Linked DNA regions of Homo sapiens: region 2 is linked to region 1. Evidence: promoter capture Hi-C in human tissues and cell types (Jung and others, 2019). All regions are on one chromosome and are shown on one strand. Each heading gives the region's core, a stretch centred on a gene start or on the middle of the fragment in contact. The rest is flanking DNA. Distances are from core to core; before and after follow the strand shown.

Region 1 (4,543 bases), core at 80-2,579:
ACTCTACTGCAATAAAAGGGAATGTGTGGCCAGGTATGGTGGCTCACGCCTGTAATCCCAGCACTTAGGGAGGCCAAGGCAGGCGAATTGCTTGAGCTCAGGAGTTTAAGACCAGCCTGGACAACACAGGGAGACCTCATCTCTACAAAAAATTTAAAAATTAGCCAGGCATAGTGGTGTCCACCTGTAGTCCCAGCTACTCGGGAGGCTGAGGCAGGAGCATTACTTGAGCCTTCGAGGAAGAGGTTGCAGTGAGCTGAGACTGTGCCATTGCACACCAGTCCCAGTCCCAGCCTGGGTGACAGAGCAAGACCCTGTCTCAAACACACACACACACACACACACACACACACACACACACACACATGAATGTGAAATAGAGCTTGTTCATGAGGGGATCTGAGGTCACCTCCCACTGTAAGGGAGAGGAACGAGCTCAGGACGTGGCTTCATGTGAGCTGGTTGTGCTCTGGACTTTGTGATTTTCCAGTTAGTTGACTGTGAGCTTGTCACCCTTCTACACATCTGCACCTACCTTGGATGCCAATACGGTAGGGTTTGGAATCCACCTTTGTGAACTGCACAAGGCAGGCTACCTATGGAAATATTAGCGCTGATTCCAGCAGCCGGGGCTTTTTCCTCCCACTGAATCTTTAGTGCTGGAAGGAGACTCCAGGGGTTGTGAGTTCTCACCTGTCTGCCTTGAGCCTGAAGCAACTGGGAGGGTAAGGGCATCCCAGAAGGACCCAGATCAACTCTGAGAACACAGAGTGAGCCACACAGGGTGAGAGACACTGGGTCACACTCTGCAGCCTGGGCCTTCTGTCCTGGGAGGTTTCCTATTTCGTTCCATATTCAAGGAGACCCATGATTATTTCCTGATTTCTAGGTGTAGATGCCATCTCTCCCTTGCCCCACTGAAATAGTTCATTTCAATATTTAATCCTGAGACTCATCCTGGTTTCTATGGTCACCGTGACCATGGTGAGACGCTGAGTGCCATGATACACTGTGTGCAGCTCCAATGCAGGGGACAGCCCATGAGGACACTGCATGCTTGATTGTCAGGAACTCATGGGGATCCTAAGGCCTATCGCACCCAGGCCCTTCACACTGGGGCTCGTCTGTGCTGGGGATTAGAGGTTGGGAGTTCTTCTACAGGGGCCCAGGTGACAATTCCTAGCCCAGAAGCAGCCCTCTCTGCCCAGAACTCACCTGCATAGCAGTGCAGGAGGAGGGCCGCCAGCATGAGGACCATCAGCAGCTTCATGGCGAGGCGGCTGCTGTCTGTGTTCAGTCGTGCGTGGCAGGGATCAAGGAAGTTGCTGTGGAGGTGAGTACCCAGCCCTGCTCTATTTATTCCCCAGGGAGGCACCTTAGTCCCTCCCAGGAATGAGGCAATGTGTCAACCTGGCATGGGACCAGGACACAATAGTGTACACCAATGGGAACACAGCCAGCCTGTGCTCTGTTTGTAGAAACCAAGAAGGCAGTAATATTTGGATCCCTGACAATCTGGGGACTACAATAATGATACATGGCTTTTAGTAAAATGGATGTGACAGTGTTTTCCAAAATATAAAGCAAAACCCAGTGGCGTGATCTTGTGGTCTCAACAATGTTGTTATTATTGTAGTTTTCTTCTAGTCCTCCTTCCCTTCTTCCTCCTCCTCCTTCTATTCTTTTTCTTCTATTCCTCTTGGTCTCCTCCTCTTCTCGTTATTCTTCAAGGTACAAACAGTTTCATAACTTGTGTATCTGCCGGTCCTGGAATCATCAAATATTTGGGCTATGTGCAATACCTGCATCTTCCTATGGGAGGCAGACCTTCCTAATCCATAGACATTTCTTTTTCAGAAAAGCGGGTTTTTTTGTTTTTGTTTTTTGGGGTTTTGTTGCTGTTGTTGTTGTTGTTTTGAGACAGAGTCTCACTCTATTGCCCAGGCTGGAGTGCAGTGGTGCGATCTTGGCTCACTGCAGCCTCCGCCTCCCGGGTTCCAGAAATTCTCCTGCCTCAGCCTCCTGGGTAGCTGGGATTACAGGCATGCGCCAGGACACCTGGCTAATTTTTGTATTTTTAGTAGAGACAGGGTTTCACCATTTTGGCCAGGCTGGTCTCGAACTTCTGACCTCAGGAGATCCACCTCACTCAGCCTCCCAAAGTGCTGGGATTACAGGCGTGAGCCACCATGCCCAGCCCCGAAAAGTGCTTTAAGTTTTGGGGAAAACATTAATATCTAACCTCTACTGAAAGCTTCTTGTTATTCTTGTTAAGAATTACAACACTAAGTTAATTCAACTTTACAAATTTATTTTACAATATATTTATAATTTAATTTGTGCTTAGTTCTTTGTTAGCCTTTTACGGTTTTCTATCCACTGACTGAGAGGATGCTGTGAGTGAGTGGAGTAACTGACTGCTTGGGCAGGCAGTGCTAGGCAGTGGGTGGCAATGGGGTTGGGTGATGATGAGATTTAGGTGATAAGATTTGGGCAGGTGTGGGTGTGGATCCTGGAGGCCACACGTACTCATGCTGTGTCTTTGGGCAAATTACAATGCTGGTCCCTCTGGGCTTCCTTTCTGTCTTTGTGAAACGGGTATAAGTGATGCTGAATTTTTTTTTTTTTCGAGACAGAGTCTTGCCCTGTTGCCCAGGCTGGAGTTCAGTGGCACGATCTTGGCTCACTGCAACCTCCGCCTCCCGAGTTCAAGCGATTCTCCTGCCTCAACCTTCTGAGTAGCTGGGATTACAGGCATGTGGCACGAGGCCCGGCTAATTTTCGTATTTTTAGTAGAGACGGAGTTTCTCCATGTTGGCCAGGCTGGTCTCGAACTCCTGACCTCAGGTGATCCACCCACCTCGGCCTCCCAAAGTGCTGAGATTACAGGTGTGAGCCACCGTGCCCGCCTGGCCGTGAATTTTTGTAAAGATGAGAGATACTCTGTAAATTTTTTTTTTTGAGATGGAGTCTCACTCTTATTGCCCAGGCTGGAGTGCAGTGGCGTGATCTCAACTCACTGCAACCTCAGCCTTCCCGGGTTCAAGCGATTATCCTGCCTCAGTCTCCTGAGTAGCTGGGATTACAGGTGTGCACCACCACGCCCAGCTAATTTTTATTTATTTATTTATTTATTTATTTATTTATTTATTTATTTATTTTGTATTTTTAGTAGAGATGGGGGTTTCACCATGTTGGCCAGGCTGGTCTCAAACTCCTGACCTCGTGATCCACCCACCTTGGCCTCCCAAAGTGCTGGGATTATAGGTTTGAGCCACCGCTCCCGGCCGACGCTCTGTAAATTTTTAATCACGCAGCCAAGCATGAGATAATTCTGAATAAATGGCAGTTGCATTCATGCGTGGATCCCTTGTTGTACGCATCACTGTTTTGCTTCTCCTGTGAGCTGGGCCTTGCACTAGATTCAGTTATAGAAACAGGTTAGACCAGGTGCTTGCTCCTGTGGACCTTATTTTCTAATGAAGGACACAAAGAACAAGACTAAAGATATATCAGAGGTATGAGAAAGTGGTCATTGCTGCAAAGAACAACAAAATATTCACAACAGCTGAATGCTGTCATAGATGGCCTGCCCAGGGGCAGTGGCCTGTAAGCCCCCCAAGGCAGCCTGTAGGAGCAGGTGCTGTTTCAGCTGAGACTTGGATGAGTGGATGGTGATGTCCAAGGACACATCTGGGGAAGAGAATTCCAGGGAGAGGGAACTGCAAGTACAGAAGCTTGAGGACAGATGGCACTGGCAAGGTAAGGAAGGGAAGGAACGTGGCCACATAGAATCAGGAAAAGGACGGGACAGCCTCACATGATAGAAAGCCCATCCCTGTTTAATTAGGGGCACAGTGAAGGTCATAGGAACAAGAAAAACAAAGTTGGCTCAGGTAAAAAAAGAAAAAAGAAAAAAAAAGAAGTCGATGAAACAGCCAGAGGAATGAATCCATTGTTAATTCCCTGTGAATGCATTGTTTTCTCTCTGGATTACTTGCGACATGTTTCTTTCCACCATTCAGGTGGAGCCTCAGTGGCCAAGAACAAACCTAATTTTGGGGAGGACAGAAAGGAGAAGTGTTGTTTACTTACCACTGTACACAGCTGACCCTGGCTGGTGGCCTTGTTTCCCAAGGGTAGTGAAGGACCTTGATTATGAAATGTGAGAGTGTCTCCTTGGCCAGTACTTATTGGGGCTCTGCCTGGTGCCCCAGTCCTTGTGGCCCTGCCTTGTCAGTCACCTTCTTACACAGAACAGAACTTCAGGAAAGGCCTCTGGTCTTGGAGCCATCTTTGTTGGCAGCAATATGCCTGTTGTTCAAGTCACCAAGGCCTCGTCTAGACCCAGCGCCTCCCTCGCGCCCGAGCCTCATGCTGGGATTCCAAGTCTGAGTTGCTCAGTGTTCAATCCACCCCAGCACCCCCATATTCCAGCTCAGTGTCCCAAAATGTGTCAGAAGCTTGCAAAGACTGACCTCCCCCTGCGTAGGGGTGAATACATCTGGTGACACGGGGTTGGGATTGAGTGAAGGGAACAGGG
Region 2 (4,723 bases), core at 2,028-4,527, 50 kb after region 1:
ACTTTTTAATGGGGTTGTTTGTTTGTTTCTTGTAAATTTGTTTAAGTTCTTTGTAGATTCTGGATATCAGCCCTTTGGCAGATGGATAAATTGCAAAAATTTTCTCCCATTCTGTAGATTGCCTGTTCACTCTGATGATAGTTTCTTTTGCTGTGCAGAAGCTTTTTAGTTTAATTATATCCCATTTGTCAATTTTGACTTTTGTTGCCATTGCTTTTGGTGTTTTAGACATGAACTCTTTGCCCATACCTATGTCTTGAATGGTATTGCCTAAGAATCTTCTATCATTTTTATGGTTTTAGGTCTTACATTTAAGTCTTTAATCCATCTTGAGTTAATTTTTGTATAAGCTGTAAGGAAGGGGTCCAGTTTCAGTTTTCTGAATATGGCTACCAGTTTTCCCAACACCATGTATTAAATAGGGAATCCTTTCCCCATTGCTTGTTTTTGTCAGGGTTGTCAAAGATCAGATGGTTGTAGATGTGTGGTGTTATTTCTGAGGCCTCTGTTCTGTTCCATTGGTCTATATATCTGTTTTGGTACCAGTACCATGCTGTTTTGGTTACTGTAGCCTTGTACTATAGTTTGAAGTCAGGTAGTGTGATGGCTCCAGCTTTGTTCTTTTTGCTTAGGATTGTCTTGGCCATGCGGGCTCTTTCTTGGTTCCATATGAGATTTAAAGTAGTTTTTTCCAATTCTGTGAAGAAAGTCAATGGCGGCTTGATGGGGATAGCATTGAATCTATAAATTACTTTGGGCAGTATGGCAATTTTCACGATATTGATTCTTTCTATCCATGAACATGGAATGTTTTTCTATTTATTTGTGTCCTTTCTTATTTCCTTGAGCAGTGGTTTGTAGTTCTCCTTGAAAAGGTCCTTCACATCCCTTGTAAGTTGTATTCCTAGGTATTTTATTCTCTTTGTAGCAATTGTGAACAGGAGTTCACTCATGACTTGGCTCTCTGTTTATTATTGGTGTATAGGAATGCTTGTGATTTTTGCACATTGATTTTGTATCCTGAGACTTTGCTGAAGTTGCTTATCAGCTTAAGGAGATTTTGGGCTGAGATGGTGGAGTTTTCTAAATATACAATCATGTCATCTGCAAACAGAGACAATTTGACTTCCTCTTTTCATATTTGAATACACTTTATTTCTTTCCCTTGCCTGATTGGCCTGGCCAGAACTTCCAATACTATGTTGAATAGGAGTGGTGAGAGAGGGCATCCTTGTCTTGTGGTGGTTTTCAAAAGGAATGCTTCCAATTTTTGCCCATTCAGTATGATATTGGCTGTGGGTTTGTCATAAATAGCTCTTATTATTTTGAGATATGTTCCATCAATACCTAGTTTATTGAGAGTTTTTAGCATGAAGGGTGTTGAATTTTGTCGAATGCCTTTTCTGCATCTATTGAGATAATCGTGGTTTTTGTCATTGGTTCTGTTTATGTGATGAATTACCTTGATTGATTTGCTTATGTTGAACCAGGCTTGCATCCCAGGGATGAAGCCAACTTGATCATGGTGGATAAGCTTTTTGATGTGCTTCTGGATTCAGTTTGCCAGTATTTTATTGAAGATTTTCACATCAATGTTCATCAGGAATATTGGCCCGAAATTTTCTATTTTTGTTGTGTCTCTGCCAGGTTTTGGTATCAGGATAATGCTGGCCTCATAAAATGAATCAGGGAGGATTCCCTCTTTTTCTATTGTTTGGAATACTTTCAGAAGGAATGGTACCTTCTACCAGAATTCGGCTGTGTACCTCTGGTAGAATTCGGCTGTGAATCCATCTGGTCCTGAACTTTTTTTGGTTGGTAGGCTATTAATTGCTGCCTCAATTTCAGAACTTGTTATTGGTCTATTTAGGGATTCGACTTCTTCCTGGTTTAGACTTGGGAGGGTGTATGTGTCCAGGAATTTATCCATTTCTTCTAGATTTTCTAGTTTATTTGGGTAGAGGTATTTATAGTATTCTCTGATGGTAGTTTGTATTTCTGTAGGATCCTCTTTATCATTTTTTATTGCGTGTATTTGATTCTTCTCTCTTTTCTTCTTTATTAGTCTGGCTAGTCGTCTATCTATTTTGTTGATCTTTTCACAAAACCGACTCCGGATTCATTGATTTTTTTCGAAGGGTTTTTTGTGTCTCTATCTCCTTCAGTTCTGCTCTGATCTTAGTTATGTCTTGTCTTCTGCTAGCTTTTGATTTGTTTGCTCTTGCTTCTCTAGTTCTTTTAATTGTGATGTTTCAGTGTCGATATTAGATCTTTCCTGCTTTCTCTTGTGGGCATTTAGTTCTGTAAATTTCCCTCTACACACTGCTTTAAATGTATCCCAGAGATTCTGGTACATTGTGTCATTCTCATTGGTTTCAAAGAACATCTTTATTTCTGCCTTCATTTCATTACTCAGTAGTCTTTCAGGAGCAGGTTGTTCAGTTTCCATGTAGTTGTGCAGTTTTTAGTGAGTTTTATTAATCTGAGTTCTAATTTGATTGCACTGTGGTCTGAGAGACTGTTACGATTTCCATTCTTTTGCATTTGCTGAGGAGTGTTTTACTTCCAATTATGTGATCAGTTTTAGTATAAGTGTGATGAGGTGCTGAGAAGAGTGTATATTCTGTTGATTTGGGGTGGAGAGTTCTGTAGATGTCTATAAGGTCCACTTGGTCCAGAGCTGAGTTCAAGTCCTGAATATCCTTGTTAATTTTCTTCTCATTGATCTATCTAATATTGACAGTGGGGTGCTAAAGTCTCCCATTCTTATTGTGTGGGAGTCTAAGTCTCTCTGTATGTCTCTAAGAACTTGCTTTATGAATCTGAGTGTTCCTGTATTGGGTGCATTTATATTTAGGGTAGTTAGCACTTCTTGTTGCATTGATCCCTTTACCACTATGTAATGCCCTTGTCTCTTTTGATCTTTGTTGGTTTAAAGTCTGTTTTATCAGAGACTAAGATTGCAACCCCTGCTTTTTTTTGCTTAGCATTTGCTTGGTAAATATTCCTCCATCCCTTTATTTTGAGCCTATGTGTGTCTTTGCACGTTAAATGGGTCTCCTGAATACAGCACACCGATGGATCTTGACTCTTTATCCAATTTGCCAGTCTGTGTCTTTTAATTGGGGCATTCAGCCCATTTACATTTAAGGTTAATATTGTTATGTGTGAATTTGATCCTGTCAAATTTGATGCTAGCTGGTTATTTTGCCTGTTAGTTGTGAATTTTCTTCATAGTGTTGATGGTCTTTACAATTTGGTATGTTTTTGCAGTGGCTGGTACCAGTTGTACCTTTCAGTGTTTAGTGCTTCCTTCAGGAGCTCTTGTAAAGCAGGCCTGGTGGGGACAAAATCTCTCTGCATTTGCTTGTCTGTAAAGGATTTTATTTCTCCTTCTCTTATGAAACTTAGTTTGGCTGGATATGAAATTCTGGGTTGAAAATTCTTTTAAGAATGTTGAATATTGGCCCCCCACTCTCTTCTGGCCTGTAGGGTTTCTGCAGAGAGATCCACTGTTAGTCTGATGGGCCTCCCTTTGTGGGTAACCTGACCTTTCTCTCTGGCTGCCCTTAACATTTTTTCCTTCATTTCCACCTTGGTGAATCTGACGATTATGTGTCTTGGGGTTGCTCAAGGAGTATCTTTGTGGTATTCTCTGTATTTCTTGAATTTGAATGTTGGCCTGTCTTGCTAGGTTGGGGAAGTTCTCCTGGATAATATCCTGAAGAGTGTTTTCCAACTTGGTTCCATTCTCCCTGTCACTTTCATGTTCACCAATGCTCTGTGGTGGCTGGGACCCACCAAGCCAAACCACTTGGCTCCCTGGCTTCAGCCCCTTTCCAGGGCAGTAATGGTTCTGTCTCACTGGCGTTCCAGGCACCACTGGGTTATGGGAAAAAAAAATTCCTGCTGCTAGCTCAGTGTCTGCCCAAATGGTCACCCAGTTTTGTGCTTGAAACCCAGGGCCCTGATGGCGTAGGATTGGAGGGGATCTCCTGTTCTGCAGGTTACAAAGACATTGGGAAAAGTGCAGTATCTGGGCTGGAGTGCACTGTTCCTCAGGCACAGTCCCTCACGGCTTCCCTTGGGTAGGGAGAGAATTCCGACCCCTTGCACTTCCCAGGTGAGGCAACGCCCCACCCTGCTTTGGCTCGCCCTCTGTGGGCTGCACCCACTGTCCAACCAGTCCCAGTGAGGTGAACTGGGTACCTCAGTTGGAAATGCAGAGATCACCTGCCTTATGCCTCAATCTCACTGGGAGCTGCAGACTAGAGAGGTTCCTGTTTGGCCATCTTCCCAGCAATCCGTTTTCTTCTAGGAGTGTTGTATTTTTAGCTCTTACATTTAGGCCTATGATCCATTAGGAATTAAACCTGATATATGGTGTTAAGAAGGGCTGGAGCTTTTTAAAAACGTATCCAGTTGTTCCACGACAATTTGTTGAAAAAATTATGCTGCCCCCATTGAATTGCCTTTCCACCTTTGCCAAAACCAAGTGATTATATATGTGTAGTTCTATTTCTGGATTCCATAAAATTTCATGTATCTATGACTACCTTTATACCAATATACTATCCTGATTCTTGTAGCTTTGAGAACTAGGCAGCCGCTTGGGCTGACACTGGATCCATCACTGAAGGGGGTCCACCGAACCACAAGCATGTAGCCACAAGCGCAATCCCAGATGAGCCCCCAAATTTGTAACTGCCCAAGGGATTCACCT

Evidence for each region. Contacts are between HindIII fragments. The study calls those that stand out against the background at their distance.
Region 2: a fragment that was not itself captured here is called in contact with the fragment with the promoter of SCGB2A1 in region 1 in 1 of the 25 tissues and cell types used here (stomach).

The regions. Positions count from the first base shown.
Region 1 is chr11:62,205,459-62,210,001 of GRCh38, reverse strand. It overlaps SCGB2A1 (secretoglobin family 2A member 1), which reads right to left and starts at 1,329. Exons shown (of 3, transcript NM_002407.3): 1 at 1,216-1,329. The coding sequence starts at 1,270. The HindIII fragment of the contact is 8,670 bases long and covers 1-2,996 here.
Region 2 is chr11:62,157,380-62,162,102 of GRCh38, reverse strand. No RefSeq gene overlaps it. Among named protein-coding and RNA genes, the nearest start is that of SCGB1D1, 30 kb to the left of the region's middle. The HindIII fragment of the contact is 4,857 bases long and covers 849-4,723 here.